Regions from separate parts of the Homo sapiens genome. Here all the other regions are linked to region 1. The links are contacts of gene promoters, found by promoter capture Hi-C in blood cells and fetal thymus (Javierre and others, 2016). All regions are on one chromosome and are shown on one strand. Each heading gives the region's core, a stretch centred on a gene start or on the middle of the fragment in contact. The rest is flanking DNA. Distances are from core to core; before and after follow the strand shown.

Region 1 (3,462 bases), core at 444-2,943:
CCTACAGATTAAATTAAGGAGAAAACCAGCTTACTTCCAGACTGCCAACCCTATGACTTTAAGGCTTGGAGGTACTCTCTCCAATAACAGGTCACTTTAGGTCTCTAATTTAATTATTTATTCTTATTGTAGTCACCACTTTTTTTTAAAGCTTAGTATTAATCAGTGCACAACCAGGATGCACAATGTTGCTCAACTGTATGATATACCAACAGGTTCCATGAGTCTGGGGTTTATTAACATAATCCAAAATGTATGCTACAACCACACTGTAAAAAAAGGGCGTCTAAATCAACTACCCTACACAAAGTTCCCTGAAAACAAAGTTCTCTCAAAACAAAGTTCTAAAAATCTTTAACTTGCATAACTGGCACATGGGGGTATAAATCTACAACTCTTCTAAGTTTTTTCTCCTTAGTTCTGCTAAGTGAAAACACAAGTCATTATCAACGTGTACTTGAAAAGAGAAAAAAAAAGAAAAAAGAAACCAGAGACACGCCTGCTGGGTATAGGAGCTCCACCCCCAAAACTCAAGGTGAATATCCTTACCAGTCTTTAATAAGCTCTGCATTCTGGTCTGTTCTCATCCCACATACCTTGTTAATCATGGAAAGCAACTCCGAACTAAAACTGGTTTAAAGAGAGTCCGAGGTGTTGCTTATACGTCTGGACTTCAGAGACTGGAGGGTTGGGACTTTACATGCCCCTAAACGTGGCCTTACGGAGTAATACAGCGAGGGAAAAAAGGAGATCAGTGGCAAAAAAAAAAAAAAAGGGGGCAAGGAAAAGAAAACGGTGAATTACAGAGCCCAAAACTTTAGTTTAGGTCCCAACTTCAGAAATCTCCCTTCCCTGGTGCCCCATCCATCCCAGGAATCAGGAGACTCAAAAAAGGTTAAGGGCCAGCGTTGACCTGTGACAACTAAAACGATTTTGAAAAATCCAGCCAAAGAAACAAAAAAAAAAGGCTGCGAGGAGAAATGGGATGGAAGAAAGATGAATGCTGAGAGCTGGTCTCTGGGGCGCCACCGGGGACCCTGGTTTCGGGGGAAGAACTGGAGGTGCCCGTAGCTGCGGGGGGACGGTGTGTGTGTAGGGGCGGGATGGGCCGTCCCAGGTGCGGCGGCCGAGGCGCGGGGGTCCCGGAGACGAGAAGGCTGGGCAAACTAACCCGGTGCCCAGAGGCCTCCCTGTCCGAAGGGGGTTGTGCTTCAGCTGCAGGGGGTCCTTCCCCTCCCCTTCCAACTCCTCACCCGGGCCGTAGAACTTGCTGCCTTTGGTCACGTCGAAGACTTTCCCATTGACCGCGAGCAGGATGCGCGGGTTGCGGGAGCCGTCGTACTGGCGCAGCTGCTCCAAGCTGAAGTCCCGCTTCTTCATGCGAGGCAGAGAGGTGGCGGGGCTCTCCTCGCCCGCCCCGGCCCCGGCCCCCAGACCCCGCCGCCCCCAGCGCACCCACAGCCGGTAGGCCCCCAGCAGCACCAGAGCCACCAGCGCCACGTTCAGCAGCATTTCCCCGCCCCCCGTCAGAAGCGCCAACGCCGCCGCCGCCCAGCCTCCCCCTTCCGCTGCCGCTCCCGCGTCGCCTGGACTCTCGCTGCCGCCGTCGTTGCTGCTCTCGCTGCCACTCCCCAGGGTGCCTAGCTTCACGTCCCCATCACCAGCCGCCATCACTGCCCGCCAGCGCCTTCCTCCTCCTCCCCGCCCCCTGCCCTCCCCAACCCCACGGCCGGCCCCGCCCATCTGGGGGCCTCTCAGCCAATAACGTGAGAAGAGGGGGCGGGGTCAGGCCGGCTCCTGATTGGGTGTTGACGGGGTAACGTTGTCTCGGATCTCCCGCCCCCTCCCTTCTTTCGCTGGCCGCGCACGCGTGCAACGCCCCGCCCACCTCGCCCCACACTTCCCTGCTCTCACTCCAAGCCTCCGCTAGGTTAAGTAGACGAGCCGGGCGGGTCTGAAGAAAAGATGCTACGACGGCCGCGCGGACGCTCATGGGCGGGGCGAGACCACAGCGCGTGCGCGGGCTCCTGAGCGCCACGCGCTCGCCTTTCGTTCGTAACCCCTGCGGGAGGCACGCCCCGCCCAGTCTCCAGGCTCTGCGCGTGCGCCCTGGAATCGCTTCCCTTCCTAGGCCTGCGTTCGCGTCCGCAAACTCCCGCCTCCTTGCGCTCCCCCCGCCCGGGAGCTTCACGTGCGCCTTGGCGGCCGCGGGGGCAGGTCCGGGCTGGACGCCTGGCGGAGGACGCGGGCAGGTGGCTTGTGGGAGGCTGGGGCATAGTTGAGCTGCAAGGCGCAAACCGATGAGGGGCGTCTGCTTTTCACCAGGGCGCCGTCGCTTTTGTCGGGAAACCGGCAGCGTAGGCGCGCAGACCGGGAAGCGGCAAGAAGATTTGGCCACGAGCTGGGGTCTTCCTGGAACGGAGAGAAAGCACGGAACCCGCACCGGGCTTCTCTGGCATCGGCAGTCTACGTGCTCCTCGCGCTGGCACCGAGCAGCCACTCCCCGCTGGGTTTGGCAAAGGCTGCTCTTGTAGAATTTTAAAGGATTTAGAGTCTCATTATTCCTTGAATCATAACTTCTGCGGCCGTAGGGAAGTGGACAGGTTGAGGTGGTCTTTCTATTCGTCATTCACTCTTATTTGCAGGTTCTGTTTCATGTACTTGGACGTCTTTTAGCCTCTCACACCTTGAAATTCTAGTGTGAAAAAGTGACCTCTGAAGTCTCACGCACTCAACTCGTTTGACGAACTCGTTTGACGTGTTCTCTCTTGCCCTTTGTTGTCTGTTGTCTTGAGTCTCATAGAATAGGTTTGAACCTTTCACTGTCGGTTTTGTAGGAGTCACTGAGGATATTGACGAGGCAAGTGACAGGGTCGACACTCTTGTAGAGAGGCTGTATAGCAACCAGGTGTCTGAAGGATTAGAGGCTGGGGAAAGAGTGGGAAAGCAGTTAGTAGGCTAGGGTATTTGTGCGTGAGGTGAGGAGACTCAGAGCTAGGGGAGACATTAGAGCAGGGGTTGGCAAACATTTTTTGTAAAGGGCCCGATCATATTTTAAGTCTCTGCCTTAACTACTCAGCTCTACCTTGTAACGAGAAAGCAGCCATAGACAATACTTGAATGAGTGTAGCTGTCTTCAGTAAAACTATGGACATTGAATTTTTAATATAATTTCAGGTATGAAATATTCTTTTGATTTTTAAGAAAATCATTGAAATATGTAAATTTTTTTTTTTTTAGTTCTGGAGAGGTGCAAAAACAACTTATAAGCCATATTGCTGAGCCCTGCATTAGAGGTACCTGAGGGAGAGCGACACAATTGGTAGTAAATGACCATATACTCTATCCTTCAATATGGAACACTTTTGGAAGTAAAGTAGGGCATTAATAATTATAGCCAGAGACCAGGAGTTATATCAGTTTTATCCCAGGCAAACCTAAAGGAATAGTCACCTTAAGGTT
Region 2 (3,462 bases), core at 307-2,806, about 19 Mb after region 1:
AGGGTACCCAAGTGTCCAGCTCCCAGTAGAAACCCTGGGCACTGAGCCTCTAATGAGTTTCCCTGGTTGGCAACATTTCACGTGTACTGTCATAACTCACCGTGGGAATGAAGTGCATCCTGCGTGACTTCACTGAAAAAGGAACTTTGGAGGCTTGCACCTGGTTTTCCTTTACACTTTGCCCCATACACATTTACCCTTTGCAAATTTTGCTTTGTATCCATTCACAGTAATACACAAGAGCCATGACTAGGACTACATGGTGAGGCCTGTGAGCCCTTCCAGCAAATCAGCAAATCTGGGAGTGGTTCCAAGACTCCCAACATGTAAGTTATCAACTTATTGCCAAATTCACCCTTTTTTGCCTGCTCTGTGAAAACTGTATCTGGCCCTTTAATATTCTCCCACCAGTTGGCACAAGGGTAAGCTTTGTTGGTAAAAAGTGCGGAGAGGCCGCGTGCAGTGGCTCAAGTCTGTAATCCCAGTGCTTTGGGAGGCCAAGGCCAGAGGATCGCTTGAGCCCAGGAGTTCCAGACCAGCTTGGGCAACAACATGGCAAAATCCTGTCTCTACAAACAAGACAAAAAATTAGCCAGGTGTGGTGGCATGTACTGCAATTCCAGCTACTGGAGTGCAGGTGGGGGCGCTGCTGAGGTGAGATCACCAGAGCCTGGGAGGTCAAGGTTGCCATGAGCCATGATGGTGCTACTGCACTCCAACCTGAGCGACACAGTGACACACTGTCTCAAAAAAAAAAAAGTGCTGGAGGCCAGGCGCAGTGGCTCACACCTGTAATCCCAGCAGTTTGGGAGGCTGAGGCGGGTGGATCGCTTGAGGTCAGGAGTTCGAGACCAGCCTGGCCAACATGGTGAAACCCTGTCTCTACTAAAAATACAAAAATTACCTGGGTGGGGTGGCAGGCGCCTGTAATGCCAGCTTCTCAGGAGGCTGAGGAACGAGAATCACTTGAACCCAGAAGGTGGAGAGGTTGCAGTGAGCTGAGATCACGCCACTTCACTCCAGCCTGGGCTACAAAGTGAGACTCTGCCCCCAAAAAAAACAGTGCTGGAGAGACACTGTAGCAAGAAAGAGTTTTGCTTCCTGCACAGGGCTTGTCTAGCACCAAGCTCCTGAAATGCATGGCAGCTAGCAGCATCCAAGGGTCAGCAGCTTCCCCAAGGCTTCTTACCCTACTACATGGTTTTGTAATGGAGTACCTCTGATAAGATACTTCCCCATGAGGCTTTCTCTGGCATCCCAAGAGGCAAAACTATACCCAGGTCCAGAAAACAAATTTACAAGAAGTTCCCTGGCAAGGCACTACAGTGACTTTTCTGCCATCCTAAGAATCACAGCTGTGCCCTCTCCAATAAGGGGTGGCACTCAGCCCAGTGAGGGGAACTCTTCCTTGGATATTCTGTCTTACTCCTAAGGGCAGTGGCTATTATGCCGTATATTACAAAATATTAAAACTGCTATGATTATTATATATCTGCTATTCTTTTCAATTCTCCTTAATAATTCTCCATATTAAACTTTCCCTGTTAAAATTACAGTATGATTTATCCCTATCCAGACTAATACAGAATAATTCTTAACAAGTAATACTAAAATCACTACAAACCTGAAGAGATGCTCCCCCATACTATTGCAAATCACTTCATCATCAGGAAACAGTTCCAAGGCCTGCTCATAGCAACCAAGTAAGTCTTGTATCCGACTGAGAGCATCAAGCTCTTCAGCCCATCTGAAAAGTGTGTACTGAAAAGTTTCCTTTACAAATAAGAAAAAAATTATGAATTAGTCAATAACATAAAAGATGAAAGAATATACATCATTAGTTGAAGATTCCAAGCAATCGAACTTAATCACTATTGAACAATCACCTTAAACTTCATTTAACTTTAGTAGGCACTGTTTTCTGAACAAGTGCACAAATGAATGAATTTTACCACCTACATGGCAATAATAAGCAGAATTAGTCTGACCACTCTCTAAACTCCCCCCACTCTTAGCTGCTGTATCACATTCTCCTTATTCTCCAGAACTGCCTCACTTTTGTCGGCTCCTGTGTTTTTGGAGTTTGTCCTTGGCCCTCTTCTTTTTTCACTCATCCATCCCTAACGCATTTATTATCACCCATGTGTTAATGGATGCTACATTTACATCTCTAGTCAAGACCTTCTCTTCTGAACCTCAGACTCATAGATACAGCTTCCTATTAGTCATTTCAACCCGGCAATGGATCTCCAGCCATTGCAAATGTAGTCCAACTCAAATATTTCCTGAACAATCCTTGTGCAAAGAACTGAAGCAACATAAATCTTGTTCTTATCCTCACAGAGGCCCTATAGAGAGAAATTTAATTTTGGAAAAGTTCAAAATGTTCTACACTGAACTCATCATACTCCTCTGACACAGGCTATAAGATTAAGACACCACTCAACCTCAAACCACAAAGTCACCTTATAATGGTACCTTAACTCCACATACACTGTTTCAAACCTAGCCAATGCTCTCTCAATATCTTTAAATCTGTTACCTCCTCTCCATTCCCACAGTTACAACCTAATCTGGCCCTTGTAACCACTTGCTGGACTACAGCAACAGCCTTAACGCTGTCACTCTAATTCCAACTGCATCTCCCTCCATCCATTCTCCATGCTGCAATACTGTGGAAAGAGGGAAAGCTTTAGTCATTAAAACATTTTAAATCATCTTCACATATTTTATACAAAAGCGTTGATATTTGGAACTGAATCTTGAGGGAGTTTACTAGAGAGACAAGGATAAGAAAGGAGATTCTGGCCGGGCACGGTGGCTCATGCCTGTAATCCCAGCCCTTTGGGAGGCCAAGGCAGGCAGATCACCTGAGGTCAGGAGTTGAAGACCAGCATGGCCAACACGGTGAAACCCCATCTCTACTAAAAATATAAAAATTAGCCAAGCACGGTGGCGAACACCTATAATCCCTGCTACTCAGGAGGCTGAGGCAGGAGAATTGCTTGAACCCAGGAGGTGGAGGTTGCAGTGAACCGAGATCGCACCACTGCATTCCAGCCTGCGTGATACAGTGAGACTCTATAAAAAAAAAAAAAACCCCGCACAGATTATATGAAATGGATCAGAGGGTCTACAGATAAGTGGCTTGGTGTGGCCGGAGTTTGGGTATGGGGAATAGAGTAGCAGGCAATGAGCATTTTACAGGGGGCCCATACAAACAAACACAGACTTTGTTCGGCAGGAAACAGACTAGTTGCTTACCCTACTGAATGTCAGGCATTGCACTACAAATTTTAAATATACTTTTTTATTTTTTCTTTTTGAGATGGAGTCATACACTGTCGCCCAGGCTGGAGTGCAATGGCACAATCTGGACTTACTGCAACCTCCGCCTCCCGAGTTCAAGCAATTCTTCTGCGTCAGCCTCCTGAGTAGCTGGGACTACAGGCACATGCCACC
Region 3 (3,462 bases), core at 269-2,768, about 19 Mb after region 1:
AATTCATATATCTCATCTGAAATGCTTTGGACCAGAAGTGTTCTGGATTTCAGATTTTTTCAGATTGGGGAACATTTGCATTATACATACCAGTTGAGCATCTCAAATCTGAAAATCCAAAATCTGAAGTGTTTCAAGGAGCATTTCCTTTGAGCATCATATAAGTACTCAAAAAGTTTTGGATTTGGGAGCATTCTGAATTTCAGATTTTCAGATTTGGCATACTCAATCTGTAATTTTGTTTTTAATTTCTCTGCTGAGCTGAAGAAATTTCACCATAGAAGAATTCCAGTTCGCAAACTGGTATGTGAAATCATTTGTGCATCTGTCTCATCTCTTCTCTCTTTTGCTTTTTTCTAATGGATTTAGATTTTTGCTTTAGGAATTCAAAATCTAAACAAGACAAATAAGTAAATGAGTATAATACCATATAAATGCTGTAAGAATACATGGGGAAACAAAAATAAAGGAAGGTCTCACAAATTAGGCAAAAAAAGTTTGCCCATGAGAAAGAATGGGAAAGATTATAGGCAGCAAAAACGCTGTAGCTGAAAGCACAGAGACAATCTACGCATACGGCATATCCAAGATAGCCTCTACTGTGTACCAAACAAGTAAAGAGTAGTTATACTTGGCCGTAGAGTAAAATTAACTTTCTCTTCATTATTCTTCTTTTTTATGAACTTTAACAACAGAGCAAGCATTAATTTAATGATCAGGAATTTTTTTTAATTAATTTTATTTATTTATTTATTTATTTATTTTTTGAGACAGAGTCTCGCTCTGTCGCCCAGGCTGGAGTGCAGTGGCTTGATCTCGGCTCACTGCAAGCTCCGCCTCCCGGGTTCACGCCATTCTCCTGCCTCAGCCTCCTGAGTACCTGGGACTACAGGCTCCCGCCACCACAACTGGCTAATTTTTTGTATTTTTGGTAGAGACGGAGTTTCACTGTGTTAGCCAGGATAGTCTCGATTTCCTGACCTCATGATCCGCCCACCTCCGCCTCCCAAACTGCTGGGATTACAGGCATGAGCCCCTGCACCCAGCCTTAATTTCCATTTTTAAAGTAAGCTTAGGAAGAACAAACATAAGGCCTATTTTTCCGGTAGAAAGTAGTTTGGGTCAGGTTGTAAAATACAAATGTTAACAACTGAGAAGTAGGCAGTGAAGTCAAGTCCAAACAGACGATACCAAAAAAGGGGCTCATAATATTCCTTAGGTGTCTCTGTGAGACTCCTGGGCTAGGTGTACTCAATGTTACAAGCCTCCTTATCCGTATGGTCATTAGGCGGAAATTCCCCAGGTGGCAGGTACTAGCAGGTCAAATGCTTAAATATAATGCCCTTTGGAGTCACAAAGACCAAGGTTGCTATCTCCACACTACCACTTAACTAGCTCAGTGAGCCTGGGCAAATTTATCAGCCACTTGACTTTTTTATCTGTAAAGTGGAAAAATGCCTACCTCTCAAAATTTTTGTGCAGAACAACTTACATAATGTAGGTAATGAACTTAGTACAGTGCCTGTCCCCCTGAAAATTACAATTACAATATAAAACGCATTTGTATATGTAATTGAGTAGTAGATATTTGTTTACTCTATTGGTTTAGCTAAAGGCTTTAAGCATATGAAACTCCTTTGTCAGATGGAATGTCAACTTTTTAAAACTTAAATGAGTGCAAATTTTTAACACAAGTTCCAAATGTAGAAGGGACATTCCCTATTTGCGGTTAATTCTAAAATGAAGCTACCTTTAGAATGATCCTTCTGTAGGATCCAGAAATAACCAAGCGGCCTAGCCCCTAGATTCTAGCAACTGACAGAAAACTAGGTGGAGGTTTCCCATTCTTCCTTGTCTTCTTACTCCAGCGGGCTTCTGTATCCACTCTAGATTGAATAGGGGATGTTTTGTGTAGAGATGGGCCTTCTCTCTTCCAGTCCAACTCTGAAGTAACCGCCCCTTACCCAAGCTTTCTTTAAACTGGAATAACGCCAGCAGAAGAATGTAGTAGGTGTGCTTCAAGTGTCCTCAAATAATTCCCGCAGCTTCCAGAATCCTTGCAATAGCCCGCTGGACCATCTGCGGCAATTCCACCCACTTCCACGCACCTGCTCTTCTTTCTAACCCCAGTACGCAATCCTGCAGCCCCGCCCCCACAGCTGACCAATCAGAGGGCGCAAAGTGAGTCGGATGGGGCGGGCCCAGTTTGGCGCTGACGACGAATCACCTGCCTCAGACAGCAGGGGCGGAAGCGGAAAAGAGCTGAAAGTCTTGGTTTGGCCTTGGGTTCCGCTGTAGGGGAGGTCCCGTGCGAAAGAATGAGGAGATCCTGGGGCCTTACCTACTAGCGGAATCGACTGAAGAGACGCCTGCCAGTGCGGGAGGTAGGAAGCTCGATCCCCAAAGAAAAGAGCGAGTGGGCAGGCAGCTGCGAGACAGAACCGGAGTGTGCAGGGTCCCTAGAGGCCGGTTCCTGGTCTGTGCTGCTCTCCTGGAAGCCATGGTACAGGCAGAGCTCAGGGCGATCCCCAGGTGAGGGCAGCGGCTCTGCCTGGGATTCCACCGCAGTACAACCGGGTAGATGCGGGGTGGAGAAGAAAGGATGTTGCCTGCACTGCTCGCCAATAGCACCCTGAGAGGCTACATTTGCAGAAGCAGCAGCAGCAGAAGACACAGCGCCGGTCCAGGAGGCGGCTCGAGCTGTTCGTAAAGTCGCCCGACAGCTTTTTCTCCGTAGTATGCGAGTTGACAAAACAGCCAGAGAACAGGGCTCCCCATTACAATCTTTTCGAGATCTTTTCCCTTGCTAACCGGATCTGATTTGTGCGAAAACATGCCTTGCACTTGTACCTGGAGGAACTGGAGACAGTGGATTCGACCTTTAGTAGCGGTCATCTACCTGGTGTCAATAGTGGTTGCGGTTCCCCTATGCGTGTGGGAATTACAGAAACTGGAGGTAAGAGGGTTCTGCACCATCAGCCTGTACACTTTCTTCTACCCATCTATGGTTGGGAAAGAGACACCCTTACCCCATTTCTGCCCTGACAGTCCTGAAAACCATCTAATGTAAACGAGCCTACTCTTAGGATATAAACCTGTCTAATTTCTTGTTCACGGTTCTTCAAGTCATGCTACAGGTGGAGGTGGGACCGGGTCGAGAAAATAGAATATATTAATATAGCTGCTTAGAAGGGCACTGTTTTGCAAGTATTCATCAGTTCCCTGAAAGTAAGGTAATTTTATTGCTGAAATCTGATCTGTTCAGACATTGGACGAAACTAGGTCAAATAAACTACCTTGAAAACCATGTATTGAATTTTATTAGCTTTTAACTAGCTTCTTGAATCAAAGCGTTCTAGTTGTTTTAACTTTGGTGTCTGTTTTTACTGTGGAAATTAGCTCTTACCCAACAAAGGTTTTGCAAAAAGTCCCTTATATATATTTTTTGATGTCATATGCTTA

Evidence for each region. The method cuts DNA at HindIII sites, captures the fragments that hold promoters and counts their contacts. A CHiCAGO score of 5 or more calls a contact.
Region 2: a contact is called between a fragment that was not itself captured here and the fragment with the promoter of PGRMC2 in region 1, in 1 of 17 cell types (total CD4 T cells). The highest score is 5.3, in total CD4 T cells.
Region 3: a fragment that was not itself captured here is called in contact with the fragment with the promoter of PGRMC2 in region 1 in 2 of 17 cell types (naive B cells and total B cells); the score reaches 6.2 in naive B cells.

What each region holds. Positions count from the first base shown.
Region 1 is chr4:128,286,120-128,289,581 of GRCh38, forward strand. It overlaps PGRMC2 (progesterone receptor membrane component 2), which reads right to left and starts at 1,694. Exons shown (of 3, transcript NM_006320.6): 1 at 1,254-1,694. The coding sequence starts at 1,671. RefSeq lists silencers at 1,334-1,393, 1,574-1,623, 1,634-1,813, 2,134-2,323, 2,695-2,989. The HindIII fragment of the contact is 4,970 bases long and covers 150-3,462 here.
Region 2 is chr4:147,678,699-147,682,160 of GRCh38, forward strand. PRMT9 (protein arginine methyltransferase 9) reads right to left here. Exons shown (of 12, transcript NM_138364.4): 2 at 1,625-1,773. Among named protein-coding and RNA genes, the nearest start is that of PRMT9, 3.7 kb to the right of the region's middle. The HindIII fragment of the contact is 2,263 bases long and covers 426-2,688 here.
Region 3 is chr4:147,615,124-147,618,585 of GRCh38, forward strand. TMEM184C (transmembrane protein 184C) reads left to right here and starts at 2,274. Exons shown (of 10, transcript NM_018241.3): 1 at 2,274-2,956. The coding sequence starts at 2,834. It overlaps TMEM184C-DT (TMEM184C divergent transcript), which reads right to left and starts at 2,122. Exons shown (of 2, transcript NR_186679.1): 1 at 1,965-2,122. RefSeq lists enhancers at 2,494-2,613, 2,644-2,693. The HindIII fragment of the contact is 898 bases long and covers 1,070-1,967 here.